Linked DNA regions of Homo sapiens: region 2 is linked to region 1. The links are contacts of gene promoters, found by promoter capture Hi-C in blood cells and fetal thymus (Javierre and others, 2016). All regions are on one chromosome and are shown on one strand. The core of a region is centred on a gene start or on the middle of the fragment in contact, and the rest is flanking DNA. Distances in the headings are between cores, read along the strand shown.

Region 1 (5,763 bases), core at 1,145-3,644:
TTTTGTTTTGAGATGGAGTCTCGCTCTGTCGCCCAGGCCGGAGTAAAGTGGCGTGATCTCGGCTCACTGCAACCTCCACCTCCCAGGTTCAAGCGATTCTCCTGCCTCAGCTTCCAGAGTAGCTGGGATTACAGGTGCGTGCCACCACGCCCAGCTAATTTTTTTGTATTTTTAGTAGAGACGGGGTTTCACCGTGTTAGCCAGGATGGTCTCGATCTCCTGACCTTGTGATCCACCTGCCTCGGCCTCCCAAAGTGCTTGGATTACAGGCATGAGCCACCGTGCCTGGCCCAAAGTGCTTTTATACACAAGTCAGGCCAAGGGCAGTTGGTCAGGTAATTCACAGAAGGGTTTTCAGATAGCAAGTTATTTAACATTAAAGTAACAGAAGATAGTATTTCCAGCATCTTTTCTTATCTCAGCTTGGTTCTCTGATGTTACAGTTGAACTTGCTTTGACAAAAGCTGCTTTCCTGGTGGCTTTGAGAGCTACATATCTGAACTTTAAAAGAAGTGTCATGCCTAGGATCAGGCAGCTGGTCACTCCAGTATAAAGGACAACTACCCTGACTCATGGTCACCTGCTCCAACTTATGTCATAGCTCAAAACAATACTTAAATCCTTACAAAGCTAACAAAGGAAGTAATGTTGCCATGTGTCATTGTCACAGAATTACCAGAAGTTTGGGGGATTTGGGTGTTCATCTTTCTATTGTGGAGTTTTTAGGGTGGTGATGGCAGTTGTGTGGTGGTTGTCATTTGGCAGGAATTGAAATTGGAGGCTTCTGTCATTCTGATTACTTATCCAACGAATGACACAAATAAGAGCATGTTTGTAGGGAAGAACTCAGGTGGGGACAGCACCTTCTATTTAATCTCTTAACCTGTATTATTAGGTTGTATATTTTAGGAGAAGAGAGGAAAGTGGCAAAAGGAGGCACAGATACAAATTTATACAGATCACCAGCTAAGTTTGGCCACAGTGGTTTGCCAAAGAATTTCAATAACTAATACTTAGAGTGCTTACTGTGCACCCTGCTAAGCACTTCACATGCTTTATTTCACTTTATCCTCAAAATAACCCAAGGAAATAGCTATCATTGTTATCCCCAGAGACCAAGATCTCATGGATAGTGAATGTCAGAGCCAGGACTGGAACCATAGAGGAGTCTGTGTTGTAACCACTGAACAACTGACTTTCTACCCTGCTTTAAAATGTTGCCTGTTGTTTGTTGTTGTTGTTTTTGAACGGTGGTGGCCAATCTGCCTCCACAATCCAGACATAATTTCGGCACTAAACAGAAATACTTTAGTCTATACAAACTTCATGTAAGTAGTTCCTGCATGAAACTATTTCCCAAGTAATACAGCACCGATTTACACCTGGCAGAAGGCATAGTTTTGATGTGAACAGTTGGGGGAAGCTTGTTTCTCTACACCCTCAAGCACGCCCACAGCAGGAGCTGAGCAGCAGGCCAGACGGCACAGAGCCCTCCTGGGACTGGTTATTTACATTAACCAAGGTGGAAACTTCTCCCGGAGATAGGTGCTGCCAAGAACCCTAGAGGAAGTAAGACGCTTTATCTTTTGCACGCACGCCAAGTCTTCAGAGGGCCTGGATGGGTGTGACTCCAAGGAGCTAATCGTCCCGTGCAGGTGCAAATCTAGACCCGTGTTTATGTGGAGGTGTAGACGCAACTGGAGATGACCCGGTTAGTGGCTGACGTGCGTGGGAAAGCCCACCAGCAGCGTTGTTGGTTGGGTTGTCTCTGTAAGTGTGGACAGTGTGTTGGTGGGCACCCAGTTCCGATTGCCCCGTCTAGACAGGGGTGTGCGGGCACTCAATGTTCCACGCGCGGCCGGGAGCTCGCAGTGTGGTCCACGCCAGTGCGCCTGGAAGCCCAGGGGATCTGTCCGGCACTCCACTGGAGGCTTGGCCCGCGGCTTCGCCCACCTCCCCAGAGCCCCGCTCAGCCCCCGCTCCCCCCGCTCAGCCCCCGCTCAGCCCCCGCTCAGCCCCCGCTCAGCCCCCGCTCAGCCCCCGCTCAGCCCCCGCTCAGCCCCCGCTCAGCCCCCGCTCCCCCACTCGGCCCCGCCCCCAGTGCCCTGGCAGGCCCCGCCCCCAACGCCGGGCGCTCCCGTCGGCTCGGCGGCCTCAGTTCCGTAAACACTTCTCACCCCGCCCCCGGCAGCCCGGACCGCACCACTCGCCGCGCGGGGGAACCGTGCCCTCTCGCATCCGAAACACCCTCCCATCCGAGCTGTTCTCGGCCTCTCTGGTTCAAACTGACGAAGACTGTTTCTCTAATAGGTTCAGTCTGTGAGCGCTCGGCTTTCGGAGACTGAAGGGCCCTGGATCCCCTTGCCCCGTCGCGCCGTCGTCCCCCCGCTATCCGGTTTTGTGATGGCCGCGCCGTGGCTGCCTCCCTAGAGTCCCTCAGGGCCCTTTAAATACCGCGTTGGGGGGGACACTGGGGCTGGGGGGGTTTGTTGGGCTGGTGAGTTTTCGAGGTGACTGTGCTGTGCTCGGTGAGGGGACGCCCAGAGAGCCCTGACCCGGGGTCACTCCGTCGCCGTTCTCCTCTTGTCTACGTGCTGGACCCGGTGCGTATCCATCACGGGGGAGGCGTTGCCGGCTCGGAGGTGACCGGCCAGGTCCAACGGAGGGGACACCGCTGCAGCCCGAAGGCTCCCCTGCCCTATCTCGGAACTCCATCCTGGGAAGGCGGGGTCAGGGGCCATCAAGCTCGGCTCCTAGTTCATGTCTTCCCACTCCGCGTCCCCTTGTTTGACCTCGAACTGCCGTCCCGCGTGGGAGCGGGGAGCGGGGCACCGAGTGGCCGCCCCGCGTGTCGGGGTGGACACGGACTTCGGGCCTCGGAGGCCGCTTCGCCGCTGTTTAAATCCTGCTGGACAGGTACCAGCGGCATCCCGCCATCAGGGGCCCAGGGCACCCCCTTCCCCCACACTCCTCGGCCGGGCTGGAGTAGGGAACTGAGCCAGGGTAGAGGCAGGGCGGGCCCGGCAGCGTGTGTTTGGGATTTGTTGCCGTGGTTTCCCCGGCACTCAGCTCTGCCTCCGCCGTCCCCTCCCCCAAGGGTTTGTTTTGACAGGAAACCTGGTGCTGCTGGAGGGGAGGGGCGGCCAGAGGACGTGGGTGAGGTCGTGCAGACTGCTGCTGCGTCCCCTTGCCGGGACCTTTGGTTAAGGGGAAGAGGTGGAGAAAAGCCGATTGGGCCTGGGCTCGAACGCTGAACCCTCAGGTGTTGCTTGTGCTTCCCAAAGCTGCTACTGTAGGTGGCACCACTGGGGGTAATAGCAATGATTTGAGGTGGCATATGGATGAACATAGTTACTTGTTTTCGTTACTATTAAGAAAATCTGTTCCATTAAGTAAGCAGTTTCACAATGATAGAGTTTCCTTTTAAAATAAATATATTTAAATGCAAAAATCTAGTCAAGATAGAGACGCGGTTACTAAATTATAGTAAAGGTAAGGAGGGAGACGTAGAAATAGTCATGAAGAGTGGCACTCAAACGACTTAAGTTTGGGAAATCTTAGATGGTTGTCCTGCTACCTTAACTGTGAAGAAACTGGACAAGTTGTCCTTGTCCCCAGTGGGTGTCTCAGCACCCATGGTCACCAGCCCAGTCAGGGACTTTGCTCTTCTTACCTGCCAACGGATAATGAGTTAATCTCAGTGGTTCCCACTTGAGGAGGCTCCCTGCCGTGGTCCTTTTCCTCTCTTCTCTAGGGATTTCATGCATCACCCTGACAGCCAGTGGAAGTTGCCTGATTTGAAGAGGCCCAGGGCCGAAGATACCCAGTCATGTGTGGAAGCAGCTTCAATGCCATTTTGTGAGAGGTTGAGGGCCCCAGAGGGGGAAGCACAGGTATTAAAACAAAACAGACCAGCAAGTGTGGGAGGAGTGCTTTCAAATGTGAAAAGTGCCAGGAATCCTTCTCCCTGATGCTGTAATGCCACGTGTAACGTGAACATCTGCTTTGTGGACAGTGACTGGCTTGTTGGCTTTTATCTAGCTCTTTGTTGGTTCTAACTTGATGAAGACCAGTATTGTCTAGATGAATGGTATGGGCCCCTATCCCTCTGCTCTATGGTTTTTGCTTTGCTGTGGATGAATAACTTTAGTGCTGCTATTTAAGACTGATTCTAAAGCAGCATTTTGCAGAAGATGGAAATTTTTCACATCATCTGCAATTTTTTTCTTTAGAGCCCAGACTTAGTCCTCTGACTCCCTTCCCTTTACTACACATATGTGAAGGCTTGTCCTTGCAGCTGACCTCGATCTAGTGTTGAAGGATGGTACACACTAGAAGTTTCTTGAAATTTCTTTTTTGCGTGAGCTAACCTTAACTGGATGGGTTCAATTCCTCAAGGCCCTGCTGGGTAATCTGAATATTTCACTCCAAAATGTTTATGACTGTAAGCAGTTAACCTTTTTGCTAATACGTGGGGTCTAACTAGGGATTTTGCGGTGCATAAAGAATGGCTCCCTCCTAGAGGATTTTCTGTCACTGTAGCGGGGTGGTGAAGAATTGTTTTGGGTGACGTACTCCTTCAGTGATGCCCTTCACAGAATAGCACTTGAGCAGCCATACCAGGATAAGATCAGCTTGCTACCACATGTGCAAGTGTCCACAGGGTGATGGGTAGATGGATTTGGCAGAGTGGGAGTGGAAAGAATGAGCAGCACACCAAATTTTCTCCAGCCAAACTGGAGTGGTAGAGAGCATGGGTTTTAGGGATCCGCTTCCTGGATTTGAGTTGTGCCTCTACACTGCTGTGAACCCTTGGGCAAGTAACGCAACCTCTCTGGGCCTCAGGATCTTATTATAAAATGGGGATAATACTGATACATTAGCTAACAAGGTTATAATAAGGATTCAAGGAGATAAAATATATAAAGAACTTATCATAGAACAGTTATTGAGTGCTTATTACTACCTCAATAATAAGCACTCAATTACTGTTAGCTGTAATTGTTGTTATTTGCTACACGTGAGTTTCTTTAACCTCCTGGAACTGTGGGTCTTTGCTAGTTTGAATTTTTGGTGCCTTGCAAATGCACTGAAGTAGGCACTGGGAATTGGAGAGGAGAGTCATCGCTTCCACCAGCAGCTTAAAATCTAGTGGGAGACAGATATGCACACAAGTGTAGTACTGTAAGTGACTGCGTAATGGGAATATGAGTAATGTGAGTGAGGCAGAAAAGAAGGAAAACTCAAGGTGTCTTATGAATAGGAGTGTGGCGTAATTAGTTCATGCAGCTGTACTCACTGAGCTCCTGCTCTAGCCCTAGCGGTGTTCTAAGCTCTAGCTGGCTCATTAGATGCAGTGAGTGTAGCAATCAGGGAAGGTTACCTCGTAGTTGGTGACATTAAATTTCAAATCTGAATGACAATAGGGAGCCAACCACAAGGAGATCAGGGAGAGGAACATTTCAGGGGCAGAGAACAGCAGGTATGAGTGCCCCGAAATAGGAAGTTTGGCATGTCTGAGGAACGCAAAGAAGATCATGAAGGGTTAGTGGGAGAACACTGCAGAATAAGGTGGGCAGAGTTAAGATCACAGAGGGTTGTAAACCATGGCCCAGTGACTTAGGAAAAGGGAACCCACCTAGGGATGAACTCTTAAAAAGGATTATCTATTTTGCCTTTTCTGGAGGGCTCTGGCCTATTTCCTGTTTTATTCTTTAGGCACTGTTCAAGAAGGACATCAGGACAAGTTTGACTGTCTAGAAG
Region 2 (5,763 bases), core at 1,553-4,052, 7.7 Mb before region 1:
ATCATTTTGCAAACATAGTTCAAATTAAATCTTCCTAATGAATGTAATACATTCATTACAATGTAATACAGGAATCACTAACAGCAAATTCCTGATGTGAGGGAAATTTTATTCCCATAAAGTTTAGTTTTCTATTAAAGCTTATCCCAGGATAGTAACTAACTTTCCCAAAACACAAAAGGTTACTTATTTATTTAGGCGAAGTCTCGCTCTGTTATCCAGGCTGGAGTGCAGTAGCAGATCTTGGCTCACTGCAACCTCCACCTCCCAGGTTCAAGTGATTCTCCTGCCTCAACCTCTGAGTAGCTGGGATTACACCAGGCCCAGCTAATTTTTGTGTTTTTGGTAGAGATAGGGTTTCACCATGTTGGACAGGCTGGTCTCAAATTCCTGACCTCAAGTGATTCGCCTGCCTCGGCCTCCCAAAGTGCTAGGATTACAGGCGCAAGCCACTGCACCTGGCCCAAAAAGGTTTTTTTTTCAATTTACTTAAAGGAGGTCAAGCATTTTAAGGCATAAGAGCCGTTTATTTAAAACAGTAAATTCAGTACATTTATTCCTTTCAGATCAAAATTAACATATTCCGTATTAGTAAAATAAATAATGCTATCTGCTTTTTTTTTTTTTTTTTTTGAGAAGGAGTTTTGCTCCATCCTGCAGGCTGGAGTGCAGTGGCACGATTTCGGCTCACTGCAACCTCCGCCTCTTGGGTTCAAGTGATTTTCCTGCCTCAGCCTCCTGAGTAGCTGGGATTACAGGAGCATGCCACCATGCCTGGCTTTTTTGTATTTTTAGTAGACACAGGGTTTTGCTATGTTGGCCAGGCTGGTCTCAAACTCCTGACCTCAGGTGATCCACCCACCTTGGCCTCCCAAAGTGCTGGGAGTACAGGCATGAGCCACTGCCGGCAGGCTGACAATTCTATTGTTTTTGAAGAGGGCGTTTAATCACTTTATTGTGACAAAATTTTGTTTGTTTGTTTTTTGAGATGGAGTCTCGCTCTGTTGCCCAGGCTGGAGTGCAATGGCACGATCCCAGCTCACTGCAACCTCCACCTCCCCATTTCGAGTGATTCTCCTGCCTCAGCCTCCTGAATAGCTGGGATTGCAGGTTTGTGCCACCAAGCCTGGCTAATTTTTGTATTTTTTGTAGAGACAGGGTTTCACCATGTTGGCCAGCCTGGTCTTGAACTCCTGACCTCATGATCTGCCCACCTCGGCCTCCCAAAGTGCTGGGATTACAGGTGTGAGCCACCGCGCCCAGCCGTAACAAATCTTTTAACTCTGAAAAATACACTATTTGGGATGAGTCACCAGTAAAGTATAATTCCATATGTAGTAGCATAAAAAATGTCTAGATGTCCAGGGTCTCTTCTAAAATTCTATCACTCTGGAAGATTAACAACAGTCTTACTAAATAACTTTACACATGAATGAAAAATGGAGAAAAATTCTATTAAGATGCCAATCTTATTAAAATGAAATGGGCTATTCCCTCCTCCCGCCAGAAAAAAAAAGGCTGGGAAAATAAAATTCACAAGTTGGTTTTTTTCTTTTTTCTTTTTTTACGAGTTGGTTTTAAGGTTATTTCTAATATTCATTTTTCCTAATGACACCAATATATCGCCATTTACCTGATTTTAAAACTGCAACTGGTTAGTTTTAAGTGAACACAAGTGCTATGTTTTTGTAGCTTTACCATATTCAATCTGTAACTTACTTAATAAAAGACCTTAAATTCATAATGCATGCACGGTGATCAAAATATGAGCACTCCTCCAAGCTCTGCTACTATAACGTTTGCTCCTTTGGGAGCATAATGATATGGTTTTCTTTTTTTTTTTTTTTTGAGACGGAGTCTCGCTCGGTCGCCCAGGCTGGAGTGCAGTGATGCGATCTTGGCTCATAGCAACCTCCGCCTCCCGGGTTCAAGCGATTCTCCTGCCTCAGCCTCCGGAGGAACTGGGACTACAGGCGCCCGCCACCACGCCCGGCTGATTATTCGTATTTTTGGTAGAGATGGGGTTTCACCATGTTGGCCAGGCTAGTCTCGAACTCCTGACCTCAAGTGATCCACCTGCCTCGGTCTCCAAACATAATGATCTGTTTTAAGGTTGCAAGTATTTCCATTAGGTATTTATGGGGTGAGTAGGGTGGGGCAGATGTGTCCCGGAATGGGGCACAGCGGACAGGAAGTAACGGTTTATAACAACGTGAACGCTTCTGACGTGTAGCGGGAGCTTCAGAAAGCGTGGCCGAATCTGCAGCTCTTAACAAATGGCTCGTTCCCAAACCTTAGCCTCAACTCCTTCTGAGCGATAGGGGCATGCTACCAGCACGGGGGGAAATGAGATACAAGAAACGCCCGAAAGGGAAAAACAAGGCTGGGCTGTTTCCTTCCTTTGGGGTCAAGACAGAGGCACAGAAGGCCCAGGTCTGGGAGGTTGGATCACCTCCGGCTGGATGTTGAGCCGGGTGGGAGCCCAAACAGCAGGGGGCCCACAGGAGGCCGGCCCAGGCAGCCTCGCGTCCACTTACCAGGCCAGGCCCAGGCACGTCCCCAGCGACAGCAGGCTCAGGCACGTTCGGGGGTCTGCCCAGCCCCCGCCTCCGCTGCTCCGGGCCACGGGGGTCTTCCCGCCCTCGCTCCGCTTCCCGGGCTCCGCAGCAGGGGCTCCCTTGGGCCCCGACTTCTTCCGGCTCTTCACCTCAGACATGTCTGGAGACCCTAGGACGACAAGCCCAGGGCAGCTTCTTCACCAGGGGGAGCAGGACGTGGCCGCCTTGGCGTTCGTGGGAACCCTGGGCGGTGACCGCGCCCCCTCACAGACTTGGCACCGCCCAGAGCCCAGCCCCTTCCCTCTCCCCGGCATCCTCGTTGCTTCACTGAGTCTTTCAGCTGCCAGCTCCATAGTTCCCCTAGGAGAGGTGGGCGGCGACCTCAACCCACAGCGCCTTCCACTGCGATATTGCTCCAAATCCGAGGAAATTCAAACTCCCGGGCGCGCGCAGGCCGACGGGACCCGAGGAGGAGGGGCAGGACGAAGGGGTCGCGCGCGCCACGTCGGGCGCGCCGCCGCTGCCCGAGTCCGGCATTGGTGGGAACGCGGCGCGTCCCTGAGGCTTAGCCACGCCCCGTCCGCGGGGTAGGCGGGCACTTCTACGCGCGCGGGCATGAGCCGTGGCAGGAGTGCGCGGCGGCAGCGGTGGCCGCCCCTTGGGGCTTGGGGTGTGTTTATTTGCATAAGCGGGCGCGCGCCGTCCGGGCTGGGTGGATCCGGCGGGATTTGACTGCTCCGCTGTCCAGAGGCGGAGAAGAAGAGGTAGCGAGTGGACGTGACTGCTCTATCCCGGGCAAAAGGGATAGAACCAGAGGTGGGGAGTCTGGGCAGTCGGCGACCCGCGAAGACTTGAGGTGCCGCAGCGGCATCCGGAGTAGCGCCGGGCTCCCTCCGGGGTGCAGCCGCCGTCGGGGGAAGGGCGCCACAGGCCGGGAAGACCTCCTCCCTTTGTGTCCAGTAGTGGGGTCCACCGGAGGGCGGCCCGTGGGCCGGGCCTCACCGCGGCGCTCCGGGACTGTGGGGTCAGGCTGCGTTGGGTGGACGCCCACCTCGCCAACCTTCGGAGGTCCCTGGGGGTCTTCGTGCGCCCCGGGGCTGCAGAGATCCAGGGGAGGCGCCTGTGAGGCCCGGACCTGCCCCGGGGCGAAGGGTATGTGGCGAGACAGAGCCCTGCACCCCTAATTCCCGGTGGAAAACTCCTGTTGCCGTTTCCCTCCACCGGCCTGGAGTCTCCCAGTCTTGTCCCGGCAGTGCCGCCCTCCCCACTAAGACCTAGGCGCAAAGGCTTGGGTAAGTTGACCTCCTCGCTTTTCTCCCCGAGCCAGGTTCTTTGGAGGCTTGGTAGCTGATTTCAGGGACTGAGAATTTGAGGACATGGAATATTTGATAACCATCCTGCTCCTGTACCAGGAAGAGAAATTCTGTAATGAGGAAGTAGTAAACTTGGGGTTTTCGTGGATAAACGTGCGCTGTTTTCTGTTTTACGTCCATGAAGAGTTTTGGCTTTCCATTTTGTTGTGGGTTACAAAAGGTTTTGAGACTTAGTTCAGATAAGTTGTGCAGTTTTAAAACGTATTTAAGATTTGCATATTTTAGTTTAACAGGACTAGGTGAAATTGGAAATTAGTTTCAGAAAACCAGAGTGTCTTATTTGCTTAGCTATTGGACATCACCTAAAAAATTCATTCATTCTTGTTTTTTCACATCGAATTTCATTACTATAAATTAAGGAACATTTTATGTTTAAGAGGACAAAAACGTTATTAACATTTTAAAAAATGAGAGTTTTGATTCGAATCAATAACTTTTTATCAGTTTTGTGCCCCTGCTGGGCATTTTGTAAGCCTTGACAAGCATAGGCAAATGCCCTACGTCCGTCCCTGTTTTTCCAAGTGCTACATTTGGTGACTTCAAAAACAGTCATTGAAGCTTGATAATTATTGCCCCCTTCTGTGAGCTCCAAGTTACTTGTGCTCTGTTTTTGCACTTCGGGCATTCACATTCCCACTCTCTCTCTCTTTTTCTTCTTTGAGTAGACTGTGAATTATTTCAGGCAAATGACTCAATCTTTTCTGTAGTCTTGGTGTCTGACATATAGGGAGGGGCACAAATGTGTATTGAATGAATGAATTGATAAACCCGTTTAGACTCTTTCACTCTATACATTGTGTAAAGTTCTGTTAATGTTTTGAAAACTTGCAGATATTGTGAACTGGGTTTTATGCCCATGGAAAAATTTGCATTATATTTGAAATAAAGTTGCTAGAAACGTCAAGTATTTTACTATAAAGGCTGTTATTCTTTCCTCATGTCCTCCTGGTCTGAGAAATCACATCAGAAAGTGTTTCCTGTTGCTTTGTGGGAAATGTGTTTAGCAAGGAGGACCTAGAGCTGACATCCTCCTTGAACGAGAACTAATACTCAATAGTAACAATGCTCTATTCACTCTTATGTTTGATAAGGAAAACAAGAAGTCTCTTAATATTAGGACTTCAATGTAATCACTATTTTATACAATCTTAATTAAAAAAGGAAGTATTTTATTGTAAGAAATGATAATGTGTGCTAAAAAAAATTGACAGTAGAGGCCGGGCATGGTGGGGCTCACAAGTGTAATCCCAGCACTTTCGGAGGCTGTGGCGGGTGGATCACCTGAGGTCAGGAATTCAAGACCAGCCTGGTCAACATGGTGAAACCCCGTCTGTACTAAAAAAAAAAAAAAAATAAGACAAGGTGGGGGAGAAATCCCAAATTTTGCTACTCAGAAGTAACTCAAACATTTCGATGAATAAACTTCTAAACGTCTATATATATTCATATGATACCAACACTTGTTTTTTTTTTTGAGACAGAGTCTCAGTCTGTCGCCCAGGCTGGAGTACAGTAGAGTGGTCTCGGCTCACTGCAACCTCTGCCGCCCTGGTTCAAGCAGTTCTCTTGCTTCAGCCTCCCGAGCAGCTGGGATTACAGGCACCTGCCACTGCATCTGGCTAATTTTGTATTTTTAGTAGAGACAGGGTTTCACCATCTTGGCCAGGCTGGTCTTGAATTCCTGACCTCGTGATCCACCCGCCTCGGCCTCCCAAAGTGCTGGGATTACAGGCATGAGCCACTGCGCCCGGCCCCCACGTTATGTGTTGTATGTGGGATCATGTTTCTGTTTTTTTTTTTTTTTTTTTTCAGCAACAGTATTATGAACATCT

What was found. Contacts are between HindIII fragments. The CHiCAGO score rates a contact against its expected background, and 5 or more counts as called.
Region 2: a contact is called between the fragment with the promoter of IKBIP here and the fragment with the promoter of TCP11L2 in region 1, in 2 of 17 cell types (naive CD8 T cells and total CD4 T cells). The highest score is 10.5, in naive CD8 T cells.

Annotation. Positions count from the first base shown.
Region 1 is chr12:106,300,339-106,306,101 of GRCh38, forward strand. It overlaps TCP11L2 (t-complex 11 like 2), which reads left to right and starts at 2,395. Exons shown (of 10, transcript NM_152772.3): 1 at 2,395-2,603. RefSeq lists a silencer at 2,033-2,152 and enhancers at 2,173-3,058, 2,233-2,312, 2,323-2,462. The HindIII fragment of the contact is 6,335 bases long and covers 1,422-5,763 here.
Region 2 is chr12:98,641,986-98,647,748 of GRCh38, forward strand. IKBIP (IKBKB interacting protein) reads right to left here and starts at 2,803. Exons shown (of 3, transcript NM_153687.4): 1 at 2,538-2,803. The coding sequence starts at 2,716. APAF1 (apoptotic peptidase activating factor 1) reads left to right here and starts at 3,305. Exons shown (of 27, transcript NM_181861.2): 1 at 3,305-3,850. RefSeq lists enhancers at 1,521-2,148, 2,149-2,775, 2,776-3,403 and silencers at 2,980-3,179, 3,500-3,709. The HindIII fragment of the contact is 4,349 bases long and covers 139-4,487 here.